Regions from separate parts of the Homo sapiens genome. Here regions 2 and 3 are each linked to region 1. Evidence: promoter capture Hi-C in human tissues and cell types (Jung and others, 2019). All regions are on one chromosome and are shown on one strand. The core of a region is centred on a gene start or on the middle of the fragment in contact, and the rest is flanking DNA. Distances in the headings are between cores, read along the strand shown. Region 1 holds the start of GSTA2 (glutathione S-transferase alpha 2). Region 2 has its middle 9.8 kb from the start of GSTA1. Region 3 has its middle 41 kb from the start of GSTA2.

Evidence for each region. The method cuts DNA at HindIII sites, captures the fragments that hold promoters and counts their contacts. A contact is called where the count stands out against the background at its distance.
Region 2: a fragment that was not itself captured here is called in contact with the fragment with the promoter of GSTA2 in region 1 in 1 of the 25 tissues and cell types used here (pancreas).
Region 3: a fragment that was not itself captured here is called in contact with the fragment with the promoter of GSTA2 in region 1 in 2 of the 25 tissues and cell types used here (liver and stomach).

What each region holds. Positions count from the first base shown.
Region 1 is chr6:52,761,156-52,764,731 of GRCh38, forward strand. It overlaps GSTA2 (glutathione S-transferase alpha 2), which reads right to left and starts at 2,320. Exons shown (of 7, transcript NM_000846.5): 1 at 2,289-2,320. The HindIII fragment of the contact is 12,217 bases long and covers 1-3,576 here.
Region 2 is chr6:52,811,601-52,815,649 of GRCh38, forward strand. It overlaps the pseudogene GSTA6P. Among named protein-coding and RNA genes, the nearest start is that of GSTA1, 9.8 kb to the left of the region's middle. RefSeq lists an enhancer at 3,982-4,031. The HindIII fragment of the contact is 8,412 bases long and covers 1-4,049 here.
Region 3 is chr6:52,720,153-52,723,965 of GRCh38, forward strand. No RefSeq gene overlaps it. Among named protein-coding and RNA genes, the nearest start is that of GSTA2, 41 kb to the right of the region's middle. RefSeq lists a silencer at 2,291-2,405. The HindIII fragment of the contact is 7,388 bases long and covers 1-3,813 here.

The DNA of each region.
Region 1 (3,576 bases), core at 1,070-3,569:
TTAAATGAGATAATGTAGAAAAAAATCATAGTAGGAACACAGGGTGTTTGCTCTTGTCCCAGTGCTTGGAAGATGGGTGAGGCTCTGGACACATTGAGTAGCCCATGGATCTTCTTTCTTTGATCTATCTATCCACCAATTATTTTACCAACCAACAATCTATGTACATGTATCTGTTTATAATCTCTGTCTACCCATCCATGTATGTATTATTTTATCTATCAATCGTTCTATGTATCTATCTCTCTGTAATCTGTCTCTTCATCATCTATTATCTATCTTGTATCCATTTCTCTGGTTCTCTATATTTTGTCCGTAGAACTCTAGTAGGAATAAGATTTTATATGAATCCAGACTTATATCAAATCTGTCATATGATGGCTCTCTGTTTCTCTCTCTCTTTGCTTTTTAGCTCCTGTACAGAGGTCAATGATATTCACTAATCAGCCCACCTGGATTAACAGGAAGTTTTCAGTGAATGTCCAAGCAGTGGGGCACATCGGTAACACAGCCTTGCTTAGCCCCATGAGGTCATGTAGTCCCATGGTTCTCAACCAGGGGGATTTTGTTCCTCTGCTCCAGAGGACATTGAGCAAGGTCTAGAGACATTTTGGGTTGCTATATCTGCAGAGAGGGAGGGGGGCTACAAATCAGATAGGTAGAGGGCAGGGATGTGTGGGGAAAAGAAAGAGAGATCAGACTGTTACTATGTCTATGTAGAAAGAAGTAGACATAAGAGACTCCATTTTGTTCTGTACTAAGAGAAATTCTTCTGCCTTGAGATGCTGTTAATCTGTAACCCTACCCCCAGCCCTGTGCTCACAGAAACATGTACTGTGTGGACTCAAGGTTTAATGGATTTAGGGCTATGGAGGATGTGCTTTGTAAACAAATGCCTGAAGGCAGTATGCTTGTTAAAAGTCATCACTATTCAGTAATGTCAAGTACCCAGGGACACAAAACACTGCGGAAGGCCGCAGGGACCTCTGCCTAGGAAAGCCAGGTATTGTCCAAGGTTTCTCCCCATGTGATAGTCTGAAATATGGCCTCGTGGGAAGGGAAAGACCTGATAGTCCCCCAGCCCGACACCCATAAACGGTCTGTGCTGAGGAGGATTAGTAAAAGAGGAAGGCCTCTTTGCAGTTGAGATAAGAGGAAGGCATCTGTCTCCCGCTTATCCCTGGGCAATGGAATGTCTTGGTGTAAAACCCAATTGTATGTTCCATCTACTGACATAGGAGAAAACTGCCTTAAGGCTGGAGGTGAGACATGCTGGCGGCAATACTGCTCTTTAATGCACCAGATATGTTTATGTATGTGCACATCAAAACACAGCACATTTTCTAACCTTGTTTATGACACAGAGACGTGAGTTTGTTCACGTTTTCCTGCTGACCCTCTCCCCACTATTATCCTATTGTCCTGCCACATCCCCCTCTCTGAGATGGTAGAGATAATGATCAATAAATACTGAGGGAACTCAGAGACTGGCGCCAGCGCAGGTCCTCCATATGCTGAGCCCCGGTCCCCTGGACCCACTTTTCTTTCTCTATACTTTGTCTCTGTGTCTCTTTCTTTTCTCAGTCTCTCATCCCACCCAACAAGAAACACCCACAGGTGTGGAGGGGCAGGCCACCCCTTCAGGGATGCTTAGAAATATCCTAGAGTGGGCAGGACAGATCTCCGTTCAAAGAATTACACAGTTCGCAGCAACAGTCAGAGCCTCTTTCTTAGCTATTCTCTATATTGGCCATGAGTTGGTAGTACTCCAGAGACAGAATATGACTTGTCGTCGAGCTAATTAGTGGCAGAGGCTCAACTAGAATCTAGTCCTCCTAACATTCAAACTAATTTTTTCTAATTATAATAAACCTTAGTTTTGAATTTTCACAGCCAATATAGAATTACAGTGTCACAATTTACAATTGTGTGTTGACTATATATATAAAGAAATTTTTGCATACATTGCCACTTCTTCCAGCACTGATTATTCTCAGATTGTTTAAAATGCTACCATTTCTTTTTTCTCCTCATGTCATTGTTTCCCATACCTTTAAATGCTGAGGCCCTGGTTTTCTAAACTCTTCATTTTTACATTTCTGTAAAGATGTATCCAACAGAAAAGAAATAAACAGTTCTTGAACTGTCACCCAAACACACCAAGATGGCATGATATGAGTAAAAACAAACTTTTTCTTGTGCTAAGGACACATATTAGTGTATTTTTCTAGGAGGCTAGAGAGGAGGGTGTGAGGCAATGTAGAGAGATTTATAAGATCAGTACTTACTTTGTTAAATGCTGTCACCTTTGTGGCTGGACAACCGAATTCCAGGTCCTAATGTATTTATAAGCTCTTTGTTCCTCTCAATAGTTCCCTCCCACTGAAAGAAGGGTCAAGTTAGGGAAAAGCCACTCCCACACATTTCATGGCCAAGGGGCCACCTACTGGATTCTAAGACATGAGGCAAGTGATCTGCTTATCAGAAGACACTGGTTAATATGTTCCTTTTCAAGGTTGGTAATCAAAGTTTAAACAATACATTTCACCTAGATTTTGCTCTTTTTGCAAGTCAGCAGAAACTGGCTTTTTAAAGATACTTTTTTTCATGAGTTGGATGCAAAGACTAGGGCAACTGAAAAAACCCTATTGTGAGCATAGCTGGGAGAGGATGTCTGTGAAGGGCAAGCTGATGCCACCGTTTTCTTACTGGGTTGCCAAATAAAATATAGGACATCCATGTAAATGTGAATTTCAGGCAAACAATCAACAATTTTTTAGTTATAGCTATGTTCCAAACACGGTATGAAACCAGATTATACTGAAATATTATTTATCGTTTACCTGAAATTCACATTTAGGTGGGTATCCTGCATTTTATCTGACAAATCCGGGAACCCTATTTGCATATGCTATCCTCTTTGCGTCACTCAAATTGCCCATAATATAACAAATATGAAAGTATCCATCACCTGGATTCATCAATTGCAAATATTCTTTCTTCATCTACACCATGTAGGGGGTTATGTTGGACCCCAAGAAAGACAGGTCCATATATAAATCCCTAGATCCTGTGAACTTGATCTTATTTGGAAAAAGGCTCTTTGCAGATGTAATGAAGTAAAAGAATTTGAGATGAGATCATCTTGGTATATCTGGATAGGCCCCAAATCCAATGACAATTGTCCTCACAGCAGAGAGAAGAGAAGACACAACACACAGGGGGTGAGGTGCAGGAAGACAGAGGCAGAAATTAGAGTGATGTGGTCATGATCCATGAAAGTCCAGAAAGGCCAAGAGCCCCCCGAAACTAGAAGACGCAGGGAAGGATTCCTGGAAATCACTTCTAATCCAAACACGCTGGCACAATGACACACCAGGGAAAAATAATTTTAAATATAGTTACTTATACGTAATTCACATATACCATCTGTATCTTCGCAGCCAGGCCTGAGTGGCACTGAACGAACTGAGGGAAGGCTTATGCCCGGGTCCCCACAGAGCCTTAAGGAGGAGAGTGAGGATGAGCCAGGAGCACATGCACTGTAAGGGATGACAAGTTGGCCTGAGAGCAGAG
Region 2 (4,049 bases), core at 63-2,562, 49 kb after region 1:
TTTCTCCTGGATGTAGACCTGGTAGTGGAATTGCTAGGTCATTGGTAACTCTATATTGGACTTCTCAAGGAACTGCCAGCAAAGGAGGAGACCCCTCCTCCCAGCTTTGCTGATGCAAAATCAGTCTGGCTGCTTAGGTCTGTATCAAATGCTGCACTTTAGGTAATCCTGGTATCTTGGGCACCAGCCTCTCAAACCTTAGTCAAGTGGACCAGTTCATACAACTGGCTGGAAACTTAGGTTCCTGGTCACCATTCTTGGAATTACTGGAACCTGAGATTCAGCTCCTTTGCAGCATTCTCTCCCCAGGCCTTCATCTACCGACTCTCAAACATTCTATGCCTTGTCCTAAGCTGTTGGCTGGAGTCCAGCCTCTGAAGTCCCGAGCACCTGGAATCATGATTCCCCATCCTCCTGAGTTCATGGTTCATCAGCGTTTGGAAACCTTTGTCAGGGTGCTGGATCCATAGGCTGCATTGTCTTCTAGAATCACACTTGCCTGAACCCTCCCCATATTCACTCTTTTCTCATCTCCATGGGACTCTGCAATACTGGACACCAGCGTATATGCCCAAGGCCCAGCCTGCTGCTAGTCGTGATGCTCCTTCCACGGTCCTGCCCACTCACAGAAGGACCGAAATCACTCTGTGTTCTCTGTTGATGGAAGAACAAAAAATATACTATATGGGGCTCTCTCCTTTATGTCTTTCCCACACAGGTTGTATTTGCTGGCAATGTAGTTGAGAATGGCTCTGGTCTGCATCAGCTTCATCCCGTCAATCTCAACCATTGGCACTTGCTGGAAGAACAAACTCCCATCTTTAGAAAATAGAAAAAAAAAAAAAGGCAGAGTGAAATTTCTATGAATCCCACCCTTTCAGGATGAAAAAGTGGTTGTGGAAATGACTAAATGTATAAAATGAAAAAAAAATTGCCTGGCAACTGTTCAAATGAAATAGGAACTTATTTTTAGCTTCTGGAAGTGCTTTTTCTTATCAAGCGTTCTTTTACTTTTTATACTGTTACTTCATTTATGTTTTTATTTCCCATCCAGCTACAGAATAGGTCGCTTGTATTGTCTGTGTTGATTTATTTTCATGATATCTTAGGAAGAAGTTGGGAGAGACTGCAACAGGTCACCAGCCAGATGCCATTTAACATGGGAATTTCTCAAAGTAAGTCTCATGCTGTTGAAGACATTAAACACAGTTCTGAGAGAAGCTTCTATGTAGGCTCTTTGTGTGCCCTTCAATACCCCCATTAGACAGTGTGTGCAGGGCAGGCTCTGTGTTTCTTACCCCATGGCTTCTACCCTGGCTCATGTCCCTCCTCACCCTGTGACCTGGACTTCCAACCAAGTCAACACTGTCTCATTATCTAAGCAGACAATATTGCAAAGATATCACCTTGTCAAACTTATAATAGAAACAATTCAAAATGGACCTATTTCAACTCCTTTTGTCTAAAACATGTCCTTGCGTGTCTTTGGATGGGGTGGGCTATATGAGATCCTGAGTTGATGACCACAGCTCACTCATGGTGCCAAAAGCAGGAAAGCAAGAAAAGGGATCCTCAGAGTGCTGGAGATGGTTCTCCAGCAAATACAAAGAGAAGTCTGGCCCTTTTTAGCCTGGAAAGAGTTGCCAGACCTGCTCTAGGAGCCCATCCTTTCCATTTTATGATTTTCTCCCTCTCCACCATCACCAACTACAACCCTACACACATGTAAGCATTGCTGGCTGTTCAAACCTCCCTGTGTACCTTCTACTAGATACCCTCCTCAGAGGCACTTAGAGACTTGATCTTACTATTTCTTAACTTTTCCAAATCTTTTGCAGATTCCAGAAATTTCTCTTCAAACTGGAAGCAGAAACAGTAAATGGGCTCTTATTAATTCATTCCATAGCACTGTAGACCTTTAACCTTGAATGGCTTCTGGCTGGTACATAATTTGGAAAATATAAGATTTCTGAGCTTGGCAGAGCACACAGAGGAGGCTGGTGGTGGCCATTTTGAAATTTACACTAGATCATCGAGAAAAGGGCATGGATCACAGCACATAGTCGCTCAATCTTCTAGTTCACTTTACTTCCACCTTGATCGCTCCCATGTCCATGATTAGGTCATGATTTGAGAGGGGATGTCACTGCAGTTAAAGGATCATGCAGTTCTTCTAATTATGATGTTGTCATATCTTAGGAAAGCATATGTCTCTGAGTGAGATCAGACCACAACCTTTGTGACCCCAGCATGGGTATGCCATAGGCCAGTGGCCACCAAAGATTCTGCCACCAAGGGCCCTCTGCTATAATTTACATCAGCTTAGTTTGTAGGAGCCCTGCTAAAGTTGAAATAGGTCATAGCTGTTGCACAGTTATAACTCTTGCAATTATAATTTTCCCTCCTGGAGAATATGGGACACAATAGAATAGAATTCTCAATTTCAGGAAGGAATTAAAGTCCCCACAGTAACATTATTTTTAATGAAAATCTCTGGCTTGTGACATGGCTGTGTGGGTTTAATATCACTGTTGTCATGTCCTGGCTTCTTGACTTTGGACACATTGTTAAATCTCTCTGTGTCTCAGTATCCTAATCTATGAAATGGGAATACTTATGGTACCTATGTTATAGGTTGGTATGAAGATTAAATTTCAAAGTCATGCAAAGCACTCAGAAAAGTAGCAAGTGTGTAAGTGCTCATTAAACATACACTATTAGGATTCTGAAGTATGGCTGCTATTTCATATCATCCTTAAAAAAATTAAATCAATCTAATATTGATGAAAATATACTCTATTGCTGATCTATATCAGTGATTTAAACTTTGAAATAAATCACACCTTGTCCTGAGTGTAGTCACTTTGGTTGGAATGGCAGCCAGCAATAAGGCTGTCTCAATCTGATCAGAAGCTCTGAGTGGATGCAGGTATTTAATACAACTATGAAAACCAGTTATTGCATAACAATGCAGTTGACTTAATAGGCAGAATCTATAAAAATAAAAGTCAAAGTAGACACTTACCAAGATTTCCTGTATTTCACTGTTGATATGATCTGGTACCAATCTTGACTCTGCCTCAAAATAGCTGTGTGATCTGGGAATCATCACTTAACATCTTCAAGCCTTAGTTTCCTCATCTGCAAAATGGGGATAGAATATTTTCTTAAACAGAATATTGTAATGTTTTCAAAATGCATGATACAGGGCCTGACCCGCGTGCATCAACATCAAGTAATAAATGGTAGTTGTGTTTGCAGTGGTTACTTATAGTTTAATGGAGTTCTTTACGGTGAAAGTTCAGGAATTTGGGGGTTTCTAGCTTGCTCCATGGAACAGTTTGTTGTGGATCTATGATCGCACAGGACCAGGATGTGGAGATCATGGGGGGTGTGTGCCAGCAATTAATAAAGCGTCCAATTCAGGACAAACCTAAGGAACGGTGGGTGGTCCTGGCAGGAGGGTGACCGAGGTGGGGTGGGATTGGCAAGTGGGATGTGCTTGTGAGGCTGAGGACTGGGTTGTGATCATCAGCCTTAGGGCACTGAGACCCCAGAAGCCTGAGCAAGGTCTGCAGTCAGCCCTGCCCCCGCCTTCAGTCAAGCTGGTTGGAGGCCAGGGAGTCTGGGTTCCTCCCAGCCTTGCCCCTCCCTCCCTCCTGCTGAACTCTTCCTACCCGGGCTCTGAACACATCCCTGAGCTGTAGAGCTGATGTCTGGGTGACAGGGTATTCATTCATACAAAGAAAACAACCTGGAATGGCAGTGTTTGGATTTCTTGTGTGCTTATTTCTTCATAGGATTGAGAAAGGGTGAGGCTAAAGTCCCAGGCCCTCGTGAAGCAATGAAGAAAGTGCCTTCCCAAGGTTCAGGCCCACACGGCGCTGTGAGGCTGAAGGGGCGCGCTAGAACTTCCTTTCACAGGATGCCACCTCACCTGAAACCCTCCTTTTCGGCTGCCACCCGAGGGACAAGATCTCCTGAGTCTGTCCATGAGTTACCCCGAGGAAAACCCTCAGGCAGCCCCTGAGGGACTCTGTTCTGGACTT
Region 3 (3,813 bases), core at 15-2,514, 42 kb before region 1:
TCTTTCCTATATAAATTACCCAGTCTTGGGCAGTATTTTTATAGTGGTGTGAGAACGGACTAATACACCGTCTACGAAGAAACAGGCCCTCACCAGACACCTGCCTGAGCCTTGACCTCGGACTTCTCAGCATCCAGAACTGTGAGAAATTAATTTCTGTTGTTTATAAACACCTCAGTTTACGGCATTTTATTCCAGCCACTGAATGGACTAAGACACTTATCCACTAGACTCCAGAAAAGTAATTTAATTTAGTTTGGCAAATCCACACACTATGACTGATTTTCAGTTTTATCTTCATTCTTTTTTTGGTACAGAAGCAGATGGATTTTTCCTCATAAGTTTCAGTTATGCTTTCAAATAGCTGTAGTGTGGAACCATACCTCCCAAAATACTGTGTCTTCTGGGCAAAATCTGCATGGAAGAGGGCCAGCCTTTGGATTCCCATTTCACCTAGAATAAAATCCATACTCCTTGACGGGACTTACAGCAGTGAGTCATCTACCACCTCCCACCCCCCTCCTCAAGCCACACCTCTGCCCTCTACTCTTCAGCCAAGCTCCAGGGGCTTGGGGTACACAGAGACACTGAGTACTTTCTCTCTTCAAACCTGTGAAAATGCTGGTTCCTTTGCCCCAAAACCTCCCTTCCATCTCTTTGCATACTTAGTTTTCTCTCAATTTTTATGTTTCCCTCACCATCCATCTAAAGTAAAGCTCTCCCCAACTACTCTCTATTATAGTCTGATATGGTTTAGCTCTGTCCCCACCCAAATCTTAAATTGTAGCTCCCATAATTCCCACATGTTGTGGGAAGGACCCGCTGGGAGATAACTGAATCACGGGAGCATTTTTCTCATACTGTTCTCGTGGTAGTGAATACGTCTCACGAAATCTGATGGTTTTATAAAGGGAAACCCCTTTCACTTGGTTCCCATTCTCTCTTGACTGCTGCAGCGTAAGACATGCCTTTAGCCTTCCTCCCTGATTGTGAGGCCTTCCCAGGCATGTGGAACTGTGAGTCTATTAAACCTTTTTCCTCTATAAATTATCCAGGCTTGGGTGTGTCTTTTAATTAGCAGCCTGAGAACAGTCTAATACATAGTCCCTGCTTAATTTTCTTCACATCCCAATCATAGGCTATAATTATTGAGATATTTATCACTCTTTCTTTTTTGTTTGTAGTCTGTCTCCTCCCACTACAATGTGAATTCCTTGAGGTCAAAGGCCTTTGTCCCATCTTGTTCAGCACTGTATCTCTGTCCTAGTGCAACATTTTATAGATTAGAACTAAAAAAATTATTTGCTGAATCAATGGATAAATGGAAAAGGCTCTTGCTAGTGATTCTGAAGACCTGGGTTCTAGGCTGATTCTACCATTGATCAGCTTTGTGTCCTTAGATAAATCTCAACCTCTCTGAACCCCAGTGCTTTCATCTGTAAACTAAAGGGGAGAACTAGAGGTGTTGAGTTTTGATGCTTGATTCTTCCTTCTTTGTTTCCTTACAATACCAGAACAACCAGTATTGAGGGCAACCTTAGAAGAAAGCATGCATGGGTCTTGAGGTAGAACAATAGGCTGAGGATGTATAATAACAGAATTTTAACCAGCTTCAGTGCATCCTCATCTCAGATGCATGAGTCCTGGCTTTCACCTACAATACGTAATAGCCACCTTCCTACTGTGTGAGAGCTGCTTCTCCACCACTACTGCCATCCTCTTCCATATCTTCCCCAATATTAGAATGACAAAACTATCACTTGAGGACGTGGGAGCAGCATGGAAAGAAACACAGATCTACAAAGACCCCTTGTTGGAATGTCCAGTATTTGTGAAGGTGTCATGATGGAGAAGAAGTTGATACAGACTGGCAGAGAGCAGTGGGGAGAACATTTCAAGATAAGGAGTGGAGTGCAATGAGTGGAATAGTGGTCATGCCATTCTGGAGGCACATCCAAGTTGCCCTGCTAAATACTGTGTTCACTACCCAATGTCAGCCTCGGTAATCTTTTCATAGCTTTCTTCACAGGACTGTGCTATGGAGGCAGGAGGGCTGTCCTTAATAACTTGTTATTTATTTCAAGAAAATCCTGGCCTTTTGACATGAAGCAGGACTGGGTGGGATCCATGTGACAACATGTTGGCAAAGAAGATATATAAATCATGAAACTAAGAAAAAATGAGCCACAGGAAAATCTGAGCACTAGTGCTTGGTGAAGGGTGGGAGACTGCGGCAGAAAGTTGCTGATGGAAAGGGAGCTTGGCCTGGTATTTGCAGTATAAAAGTTAAAGATAGACTGAGAAAAGACCTTGAAACTCATAGAACTAAGATGATTAGTTCATTGATTAAGAAATTAAAATTTGGCCGGGCGTGGTGGCTCATGCTTACAATCCCAGTACTTTGGGAGGCTGAGGCTGGAGGATCACGAGGTCAGGAGATCGAGACCATCCTGGCTAACACGGTGAAACCCCGTCTCTACTAAAAATACAAAAAATTAGCCGGGCGTGGTAGCGGGCGCCTGTAGTCCCAGGTACCCGGGAGGCTGAGGCAGGAGAGTGGCGAGAACCTGGGAGGCGGAGCTTGCAGTGAGCCGAGATTGTGCCACTGCACTCCAGCCTGGGCGACAGAGCGAGACTCCATCTCAAAGGAAAAAAAAAAAAGAATTTAAAATTCAAGACTTTGAGAGAGGAAGTAGAGCTAGAATGCAGACTACTCAAGTTTTGGACGTGAAAAGAAAGAAGGAAATAGCAAAAGGGAAAACTAGCCAAGGATAAAGAACTTTAAAAATTTGTTGTGGAGTGTTTCTTGGTTTCTTCTGAGGAGTGTGGGTGCATGGCTAAGAAGGTTAGGACAGTGGAGGCCTGGGCCTGTTTCTAAGCAGAAGGAAGCCTTCCAAAGGACAGAGGCAGCTGAAGAGACCAGCTGGAGAGCAGAAGGATTGTACAGCTTGCTTATGTACATAATAGATTTGTGATTGTTTATTTGCATCTATTGGTTTTATTACTGTATTAGGGGATATAATTGATACTTTAAAATATATGTGTATTTTATATAATGTATTATATGCAATATATTATATATATATGAAATATTGAGACCAGCCTGGCCAACATGGCAAAACCCCATCTCTACTAAAAATACAAAAAATTAGCTGGGCGTGGTGGTGGGCGCCTGTAATCCCAGCTACTTGGGAGGCTGAGGCAGGAGAATCACTTGAACCTGGGAGAAGGAGGTTGCAGTGAGCTGAGATCAGGCCACTGCACTCCAGTCTGGGCGACAAGAGCGAGACACTGTCTCAAAAAAAAAACAAAGTGTACAGAGTTAAGTGTACAACTGGATAAGTTTTTCAGTTTTGTTTTTGTTTTTGAGACGAGACTCGCTCTGTTGCCTCCAGGCTGGAATGCAGTGGTGTGACCTCAGCTCACTACAACCTCCACCTCCTGAGTCCAAGTGATTCTCATGCCTCAGCCTCCCAAGTAGCTGGGACTACAGGAGTGTGCCACCACACCCAGCTAATTTTTGTATTTTTAGTAGAAATGGGGTTTTACCATGTTGGCCAGGCTGGTCTTGAACTCCTGGCCTCAAGTGATCCGTCTGCTTTGGCTTCCCAAAGTGCTAGGATTACAGGAGTGAGCCACCACACCCAGCCTCAATTGGATAAGTTTTAACACACATATACACCTATGAGACTATCATCATAATCATGATACTGAACTTATTCACATCCTCATGCCCTTTGGAAATCCCTTTCTTCTGCCTGGCCCCATACCACTCATCTGCTTTTTGTCACAATGAGTTAGTTTGCATTTTCT